3 separate regions of the Homo sapiens genome follow, and regions 1 and 2 are each linked to region 3. The links are contacts of gene promoters, found by promoter capture Hi-C in blood cells and fetal thymus (Javierre and others, 2016). All regions are on one chromosome and are shown on one strand. The core of a region is centred on a gene start or on the middle of the fragment in contact, and the rest is flanking DNA. Distances in the headings are between cores, read along the strand shown.

Region 1 (2,700 bases), core at 132-2,631, 130 kb after region 3:
TTTCCGGGTTTACAGTAGCTTATCACAGTCTAGTAGAAGAGACATTCTGACACATGAACTAATAAGTAAAACACTAGGTTATACGCAGAACACAAGTACTTACAAGATATAGAGATAATGATTAAGAGGTAATTATTAATTCAGTCTTTTTTTTTTTTTTTGAGACAGAGTCTCGCTCTGTCACCCAGGCTGGAGTGCAGTGGCACATTCTAGGCTCACTGCAACCTCTGCCTCCCAGGTTCAAGCAATTCTCATGCCTCAGCCTCCCAAGCAGCTGGCATTACAGGCACGCGCCACCATGACACCTGGCTAATTTTTTGTATTTTTAGTAGAGACAGGGTTTTACCATATTGGCCAGGCTGATCTTGAACCCCTGACCTCAAGTGATCCACCCCCTCAGCCTCCAAAAGTGCTGGGATTAGAGGCGTGAGCCACCACGGCTGGCCTAACTTAGTTTTTAAAGTGTAGAAATCAGGCATTTCAGGTATAAAGGTATGAAAGTATATGGTCTGTAAAAGAACTGCAAAGAACTGAATCTGCCTAATAGATTAGGTAATAAATAACCTTACGTAATAACTTGTGTTTGTACATGAGAGGTGAGATGGTAGTTGTGATTGAAATTGGAGAGGTTAGGAGGAACCAGAACGTTAAGGTAACTATGTATCACTCTGAGCAGTCTGAAACTTAAGTGATAGGAAGCCACCAAAGGATTTTGAAAAGGCAGTTACTTGTTCAGATTTGTAATTGAAATAGATTATCGTGACGGTTCAGAGGGAACAGATTTGAGGAAAAAAGAACCCTAAAAATGCTTTCTTAGCAAAAGCAATTGGAGAATTGTTAGTAAGATGTCTGAAGTACCCACTCTGGATGAGAGCCACAGCAGCCCACCAGGCAGAGGGTTATGTTTTGGGTTGCACAGTTTGTATGATCAAAGGAATACTACCTCACACTGGCCTAAGGTTCCTCAATCCCCTGCTCAGTAGTGATGAAGAATTCAACTACACTGTTTCAGAAGTCCTAAATACTGAAAGCTTTTCCTTTTTAGGTAAAATAATATCAAACTAAATACAACTTTTCTTCAAAAGCACCATTGAGTATCTCTTTTTAATTTTTTATTTTTACACAAGCTGGAGTATGGTGGTGCAATCATGGCTCACTGCAGCCTCAACCTCTTGGGATCAAGCAATTCTCCCACCTCAGCCTCCTGAGTAGCTGGACTACAGGTGTGTGCCACCATGCCCAGCTAATTTTTAAATTTTTTGTAGTGAAGGGGTTTCACTATGTTGCCCAAGCTAGTCTCAAACCCCTGGCCTCAAGCAATCCTCCCACCTTGGCCTCCAAAGTGGTATGAACCACTGCGCCTGGCCCACTGAGTACCTCAGTTGTTCAAATTCTTAATTCAGCTGAGGGATGGAGAAGCTCTGGTCTATTGATGAGATCAAATCTTGACCTGATTTTATTCCAACAGTATATGTAGCAATTATGTATGTATATATTAGTAAAAACATATGACTTCAAAAATCTTTTAAAAACCATAAAATAGACCAAGGGTCAGCAAACAACTGACCATAACCAGCTGTCTGTTTTTGTAAATAAGTTTTATTGGAACATAATTACACACATTTGCTTACATGCTGTCTGTGGCTGCTTACATGCTGTCTATGGCTGCTTCCATGCTACAACAGCAGAGTTGGGTAGCAGCATCGGAAATTGTATGGCCTGCAAAGCTTAAAATATTTACTGGCCTGCTGTGGTCTGAATATTTGTGTCCCACAAAAATTCATTTGTTGACACTCAACTCCCAATGCAATAGTATTAAGAGATGGAGGCTTTAGGAGGTGATTATGTCATGAAGGCTTTGCTCTTGTGAATGGGATTAGTGTCCTTATAAAAAGAGGCTTGGGGGCCGGGCGTGATGGCTCATGCCCATAATCTCAGCACTTTGGGAGGCTGAGGTGGGCGGATCACGAGGTCAGGAATTCGAGACTAGCCTGACCAACACGGTGAAACCCCATCTCTATTAAAAATACAAAAATTAGCCAGGTGTGGTGGCGCATGCCCGTAATCCCAGCTACTCAGGAGGTGGAGGCAGGATAATTGCTTGAACCCGGGAGGCGGAGATTGCAGTGAGCCGAGATCGTGCCACTGCACTCCAGTCTGGGCGACAGAGCAAGACTCTGTCTCAAAAAAAAAAAAAAAAAAAGAGGCTTGGGGTTGGGCGTGGTGGCTCATGCCTGTAATTGCAGCACTTTGGGAGGCTGAGGCGGGCAGATTGCGTGAGCCCAGGGGTTCGAGACCTGGGCAACATGGTAAAACCCTGTATCTATTAAAAAAAAAAAAACACAAAAACTAGCCAGGTGTGGTGACATGTGCTTGTAGTCCCAGCTACCTGGGAGGGTGAGGTGAGAGGATCGCCTGAGCTCAAGAGGGCAAGGCTGCAGGGAGCCATGATTGCACCACTGGCCACAACCACACCACTGCACTCCAGCCTTTGTGACAGAGTGAGACCCTGTCTCAAAAAACTAAATAAAAAGAGGCTTGAAGGAGCCTGTTTGCCACTTTTGCCATGTGAGGATGCAGCAAGAAGGCATTATCTTGGAAGCAAAGAGTAAGCCCTCCCCCGACACTGAATCTGTTAGTGCCTTGATGTTGAACTTCCCAGCCTCCAGAACTGTTAAAATTAAATTTCTGTTATTTAGA
Region 2 (2,700 bases), core at 145-2,644, 74 kb before region 3:
TCCAAAGGGATCCCTTACACCCATTTGCAGTCCATTGCCATTTCCACCACCAGCTTCAGGCAGCCACTGCCTTCTGTCTTCATAGATTTTCCTTTTCTGGACATTTCATAGAAATGGAATCATAAAATATGTGGCCTTTTCATCTGGATTCTTTCATTTAGCATGTTTTTGAGGTTAATCCATGTTACATTAATAACATGTATCAGTACTCATTCCTTTTTATTGCTGAATAATATTCCATTGTATGGATGTACCACATTTTGTTTATCTGTTCACCTAATGATAAACATTGGGATTATTTCCACTTTTTGGATATTATGAATAATATCCAAGCGTTTATGAACAAACGCTTGTTTGAACTTGTTTATATAAGTCTTTGTGTGGATATATACTTTCTTTTCTATTGAGTAAATACCCAAAAGTGGATGGCTGAGTTATTTGGTACATGTATGTCAGTTAAGCTTTTAAGAAAAGTTCAAACTGTTTTCCAAAGTAGCTGTTGCATTTTACGTTCTCACCAGCAATGTTGGAGAGTTTTGGTTTCTCCACATCCTAGCCACAATTTATTATTGCCTTTCTTTTTTATTATAGTCACACTCATGGGTATGAAGTGCTATCTCATTGAGGTTTTAATTAGAATTTCTATAATGATTGATGATGTTGAGCATATTTTGTGTGCTTGTTATACATTTGCATATCTTTGTTGAAATATCTATAAATCTTTTCTTTCTTTAACCTTGCTAATTAGCTGACTTTAAGTCTATAAATCTTTTGACTATTTTAAAATTTTCTTGTATTATTATTGAGTTGTACTTGTTCTTTATCTATTCTTAACACAAGTCCTTTATTAGAAATATGATTTGCAAGTATTTTCTTCCAGTCTGTGGCTTAGATTTTAATTTTCTTTTTAAAATTTTAATCTTCTTAATGACATCTTTTGAAGCACAAAATCTTTCAACTTTGATGAAGTCCAACTTACAATTTTGTCTTTTGTGGATTATGCTTTTGGTATTGTATGTAAGAACTTGTTTCCTAACCAAAGACTTTTCCTACGTTTTCTTCCAAAAATTGTAAGTTTTAGATCTTACATGTAAGTCTCTGAACTGTTTTAAGTTATTTTTGTGTATAGTGTGGGGTGTGGTCTAAATGTATCTTTTTGCATGTGTGTATCCAGCACCATTTCCTCAAAGAATTGTTTTGGAATCTTTGTTGAAAATAAATTGATCTCCCTTCATTTTAAATTTTAACTAAATGAAAAATTCAGTGTCTCAGTTGCACTAGACACATTTCAAGTACCCAACAGCCATGTTTGGCTAGTGACTACCACACTCAGTAGTGTAGCCCTAGGGGACACAAAGATGAAAATATTACAGTTCTCAACCCCAAGGACCTCATATTCTGGTGCCATCAACTTAAGGAAACTGAAGCGGTGTAAGAATAAGCAATATGCTAACAATGAAAAGCAACAGCAGGAAAAAAAGCCACAATGATTGTAAATTAATGCTTTCAAAGAGTGGCTATATGTAAACATATTCATAATTTTTGACTAAGGAATTCGTCTCCTAGAATTTGTTCTATTGAAATCATTCAAAATAAAAAGAAGCCATGTGTACTTATGTTTAGAGATACTTTATTTATAAGTTCAAAAAAACTACAAACAGGGAGTCAGTGGGAAAGAGGAGTAACTGCTAATAGGTATGGTATTTCTTTTGGGGGTGATGAAAATGTTCTAAAATTTGATAGTGGTGATGCTTGCACAACTCTGAATATACTAAAAACTACTGAATCGTATATTGTAAAATGGTAAATGTTATGGCACATGAATTATATCTCAATAACAATGTTATTTAAAACTATAAACAATCTAAATATCAAACAAGTAAATGTTAATATTTTTACTCAGAAATAGCAAATGAATAGCTCCGTAGCTCCATTTATTGGGCATTTACTACATGCCAGGCACTATTCTGAGCACTTTACATGCATTAATTCAGTGGTTCTCAATGTGTGGTCCTCAATCCAGTAGCATCTGGTATGCAAATTCAGGCATCCCAGGCTGGAGTGCAGTGATGCAATCTCGGCTTACTGCAGTCTCCACCTCCCAGGCCCAAGTGATTCTCCTGCTTCAGGCTCCCAGGTAGCTGGGATTATAGGCATGCACCACCACACCAGCTAATTGTTTTGTATTTTTCATACAGATGGGGTTTCATCATGTTGATCAGGCTGGTCTCAAACTCCTGACCTCAAATGATCTGCCTCCCAAAGTCCTGGGATTACAAGCATGAGCCACTGCACCCAGCCAAGAAAATGTGTCCTAACAAAGCTTCTGTGTGATTCTGCAGCATGAACAAGTTTGAGAATCTCTGTATGTATTATGCCATTCTTGCATTGCTATGAAGAAGTACCTGAGACTGGGTAATTTACGAAGAAAAGAGGTTTAATTGCCTCACAGTTCTGCAGGCTTTACAGTATCTGCTCAGCTTCAGGGAAGGCCTCAAGGAACTTTTACTCATGGCAGAAGGCAAAGCAGGAGAAGGCATGTCATATGGCAAGAGCGGGAGCAAGACAGGGAGAGGGTGCCACACGCTTTTAAACAATCAGATCTTGAGAGAACACACACACTATGGTGAGGACAGCACCAAGGGGATGGAGCTAAACCATTCATGAGAAATCTACGCCCAGGACCTAAACACCTCCCAC
Region 3 (2,700 bases), core at 148-2,647:
GGAAGGCAAGTGTGATGAAGAACTCCAGTAGCGCCGCGGCCATGTAGGCAGAGATGGAGGCCGTGAAGCAGATGAAGATGATGAGGGTCAGGGCCTGCAGGACCGAGCATGTGGAACATGCCAAGAAGGGGACACAGGCAGGGGCCAGGGCTTTGCCTTCCCCTCCTTGGAAGCTCCCCTAGGCTGGCACCTACTACCTGTCCTTGGAGGGGAGGAAGGACTCTGGCACATCTCCCTATCCCCTGGTGTCAGGAGCCACCGTTGCAGGGCATTTGCCGGTCAAGGGCAGTCTCCGGCCTCCCACTCTGCTCACCCAGCAACCCCAGCAGTCTGGCCAAGCCATATGGCTCCCAGGAGCACTATCCCACAGTAATTCATAGGTACAGTGTGAATGCCAGCCCCTGGAGTTGTGCCCACAGAGACCCGACTCCACAGGGACCAAGAGGAGCCCCCTGCCTCATAATGCTTTCCCCACCCCCAGATGCCTGAAAGCCCCCTGACAAGGACCAGAGCCTTTGATTCCATGCCAAGAGAGAAGGCAGATGCTGCCCAGTGGTTTCTGGGAGCCCCTTTAGCTCTGATGACCTAGGGTGGCATACGTGCAGAGGCCTTAACTCTACACTGTGGTCTTGCTAAGTAACCAGGGGAAGATCCTTTCCTGAGAAGAGATGTTTCTGGGCAGCAGACCACAGATAAAGTGCAGTTGCAGGAAGTCTGCCCTTTTTGATAGTTAGACTTCTTGGACGTGCTGAGAAGTGGCCATGTTAGAGGCTGTCATTGCCCCTGTCCCATCCCTATGTCTCAAGCTTCCTCAATGTCCCAAAAAGTCACCCTGTCTAACTGCAGTCCTTCCTGCTGCAACTGAAACCTGCTGTAAATGTCTCCGGGTGGAGAGGCAGCAAGAAGGCAGAGTAGGAGACGAAGAAGGGGCAGCTGCGGGCAGGAGAGGTGTCCAGAGGGCTTGGGGAAGGAGGCTACTGAAGGGTGAGCTGGGGGCTGGCATAAGGCTGGCCAGGAGCCGGGGGTCAGGGAGATGGAGGCACCAGGTTGGGAGGCAGCTGTTACCAGCTCGGTTTCCAGCAGGATGCCCTTGTGGGAGGTGAGGAAGGCCTTGTCCACCGCGAAGCCCTGGAGCTCTGCAACTACCCCCTCCTCAGGGTGCCGGTCCCGGCGATCTCGAGCACTGAGCATCTTCGTAGGGCCCACCAACACAGCCCCCTACTGCCAAAAGCCCAGCAAGAGAAACAGAAATCTGGCAGGATGGGGAAACAGACAGGAGCAAGAAGGCACTTCGAGAAACCTGAAAGTGAAGCAGGAGGCTTGCCCACAGGGCCCCGGGAGAGAAGGCAGGCGCTGGGGGCCTTGCCCAGATGGGCCCTCACCCAGCTGCCCAGAGTGCCTCTGCTGCTGCCTGCACCAGCCCCCTAGAGACCCATGGGGAGGGGCAGAGAGGAAGGAGGCTCTAATCCCTCCCCTTGCTTAGAGCCCAACCCAGCCTGGAATAGAGAAGGAAGGGGAGAGGAGGAGGTCCGAAAAGAAACTGGGAGGAGCTGGGATGTGAGTAGAGGAACAGGGGCAGGACTGGGAGCCCCCAGGGACCTAAGCCTGAAGACATTTGTGTCCCCCTTCTCTAACCTTAACCCTCTTGTTTGGCCGGTCCTTTCTCCCATTTCCTTTTAGGGAGGGTGTGAGCTGGAGCCCAGCCCAGGCAGCACCCCCAGGACCAAGCTGCAGCAGCCAGGACTGGAGGACAAAGGCGGATTGTTGGGGGACAAGGGGGCGCTCTGTGCCTGCTGCAATGCCTCAATGGGCCTCTGTCTCTCCAGCATGCCGGGAGCGCGGCCTAGCCCCCACCCTGGTGTTTGGGATGGGCCAGGGAGACAGAGATGGGAGAGGACGGGAGGGTGCAGCGGAAACTCTGGAGGGCGGAGAGAGCTGGCAGGGTGGACAGAGGTGAGGGCCAATGGTGGAAAGGAGAAGGGACAGGCTGGGAGACCGCGAGATGTTCAGGCACCACGGATGCCAAATACAGATTAGGCCATTTTTAAATAAAGATATTTATTTGGATAAATCTCTATACATTCAATAACAGCTTCCTCCTCAGAATCATCCATGTCAAAAGACTAGTAACTACACTAGAATGCACCCAAAGTAGATGCTCACTGAGTGATGAGTAAACAAACAAATAAAACCAGGGGCTCTTTCTTCTCCAGCAAGGGGGAAATATCTAGAAAGTGCCTGTGCTGGGCCAGGGTAGCAGGGGATGGGAAAAGAGGAAGAGACAGGAGTGGTGGCCTCCAGAAATGGGCAGAACTTTGAAAACCTTTCCTGAGAGAAAATGACAGGACACCAGCTTCCGGCGGCCCTAAGCAGCAGCTGCTCTTTTCAAAATGTGCAGAAGTGCAGGCTTTCCCCAAAGCCCCCCATCCTGTCCCGGGATCCTGCTGCTCCAGACAGCACTTCACAGGGGCCAAGCATCTGGGCATCCTGGCCCTTCATGGCAAGTGGTTGTACACCTGGCTCCAGGTTTCCCAAAAAGGGACCAGCCTCCAGCAGGTCCGGCTAGCCCATCACACGGGGCCGCACACACACACAAGCTAAGGAAACACGGTACAGCCTGCGCTCCAGGCAGTAGCCCTTGTGGGTGCCCTTCTCGCCATGGCATGGCCGCCGGTAGAAGACAGTCTGGTTGTGGTAGAG

The links. The method cuts DNA at HindIII sites, captures the fragments that hold promoters and counts their contacts. A CHiCAGO score of 5 or more calls a contact.
Region 1: a fragment that was not itself captured here is called in contact with the fragment with the promoter of CMTM5 in region 3 in 1 of 17 cell types (activated CD4 T cells); the score reaches 5.7 in activated CD4 T cells.
Region 2: a contact is called between a fragment that was not itself captured here and the fragment with the promoter of CMTM5 in region 3, in 1 of 17 cell types (megakaryocytes). The highest score is 5.5, in megakaryocytes.

What each region holds. Positions count from the first base shown.
Region 1 is chr14:23,247,944-23,250,643 of GRCh38, reverse strand. The region is part of intron 4 of RNF212B (ring finger protein 212B); the gene reads right to left. Among named protein-coding and RNA genes, the nearest start is that of RNF212B, 11 kb to the right of the region's middle. The HindIII fragment of the contact is 696 bases long and covers 1,034-1,729 here.
Region 2 is chr14:23,449,960-23,452,659 of GRCh38, reverse strand. No RefSeq gene overlaps it. Among named protein-coding and RNA genes, the nearest start is that of MYH7, 16 kb to the right of the region's middle. The HindIII fragment of the contact is 1,862 bases long and covers 464-2,325 here.
Region 3 is chr14:23,375,743-23,378,442 of GRCh38, reverse strand. It overlaps CMTM5 (CKLF like MARVEL transmembrane domain containing 5), which reads right to left and starts at 1,397. Exons shown (of 6, transcript NM_001288746.2): 1 at 1,066-1,397; 2 at 1-94. The coding sequence starts at 1,191. IL25 (interleukin 25) reads right to left here. Exons shown (of 3, transcript NM_172314.2): 3 at 2,040-2,700. The coding sequence ends at 2,563. The HindIII fragment of the contact is 2,824 bases long and covers 809-2,700 here.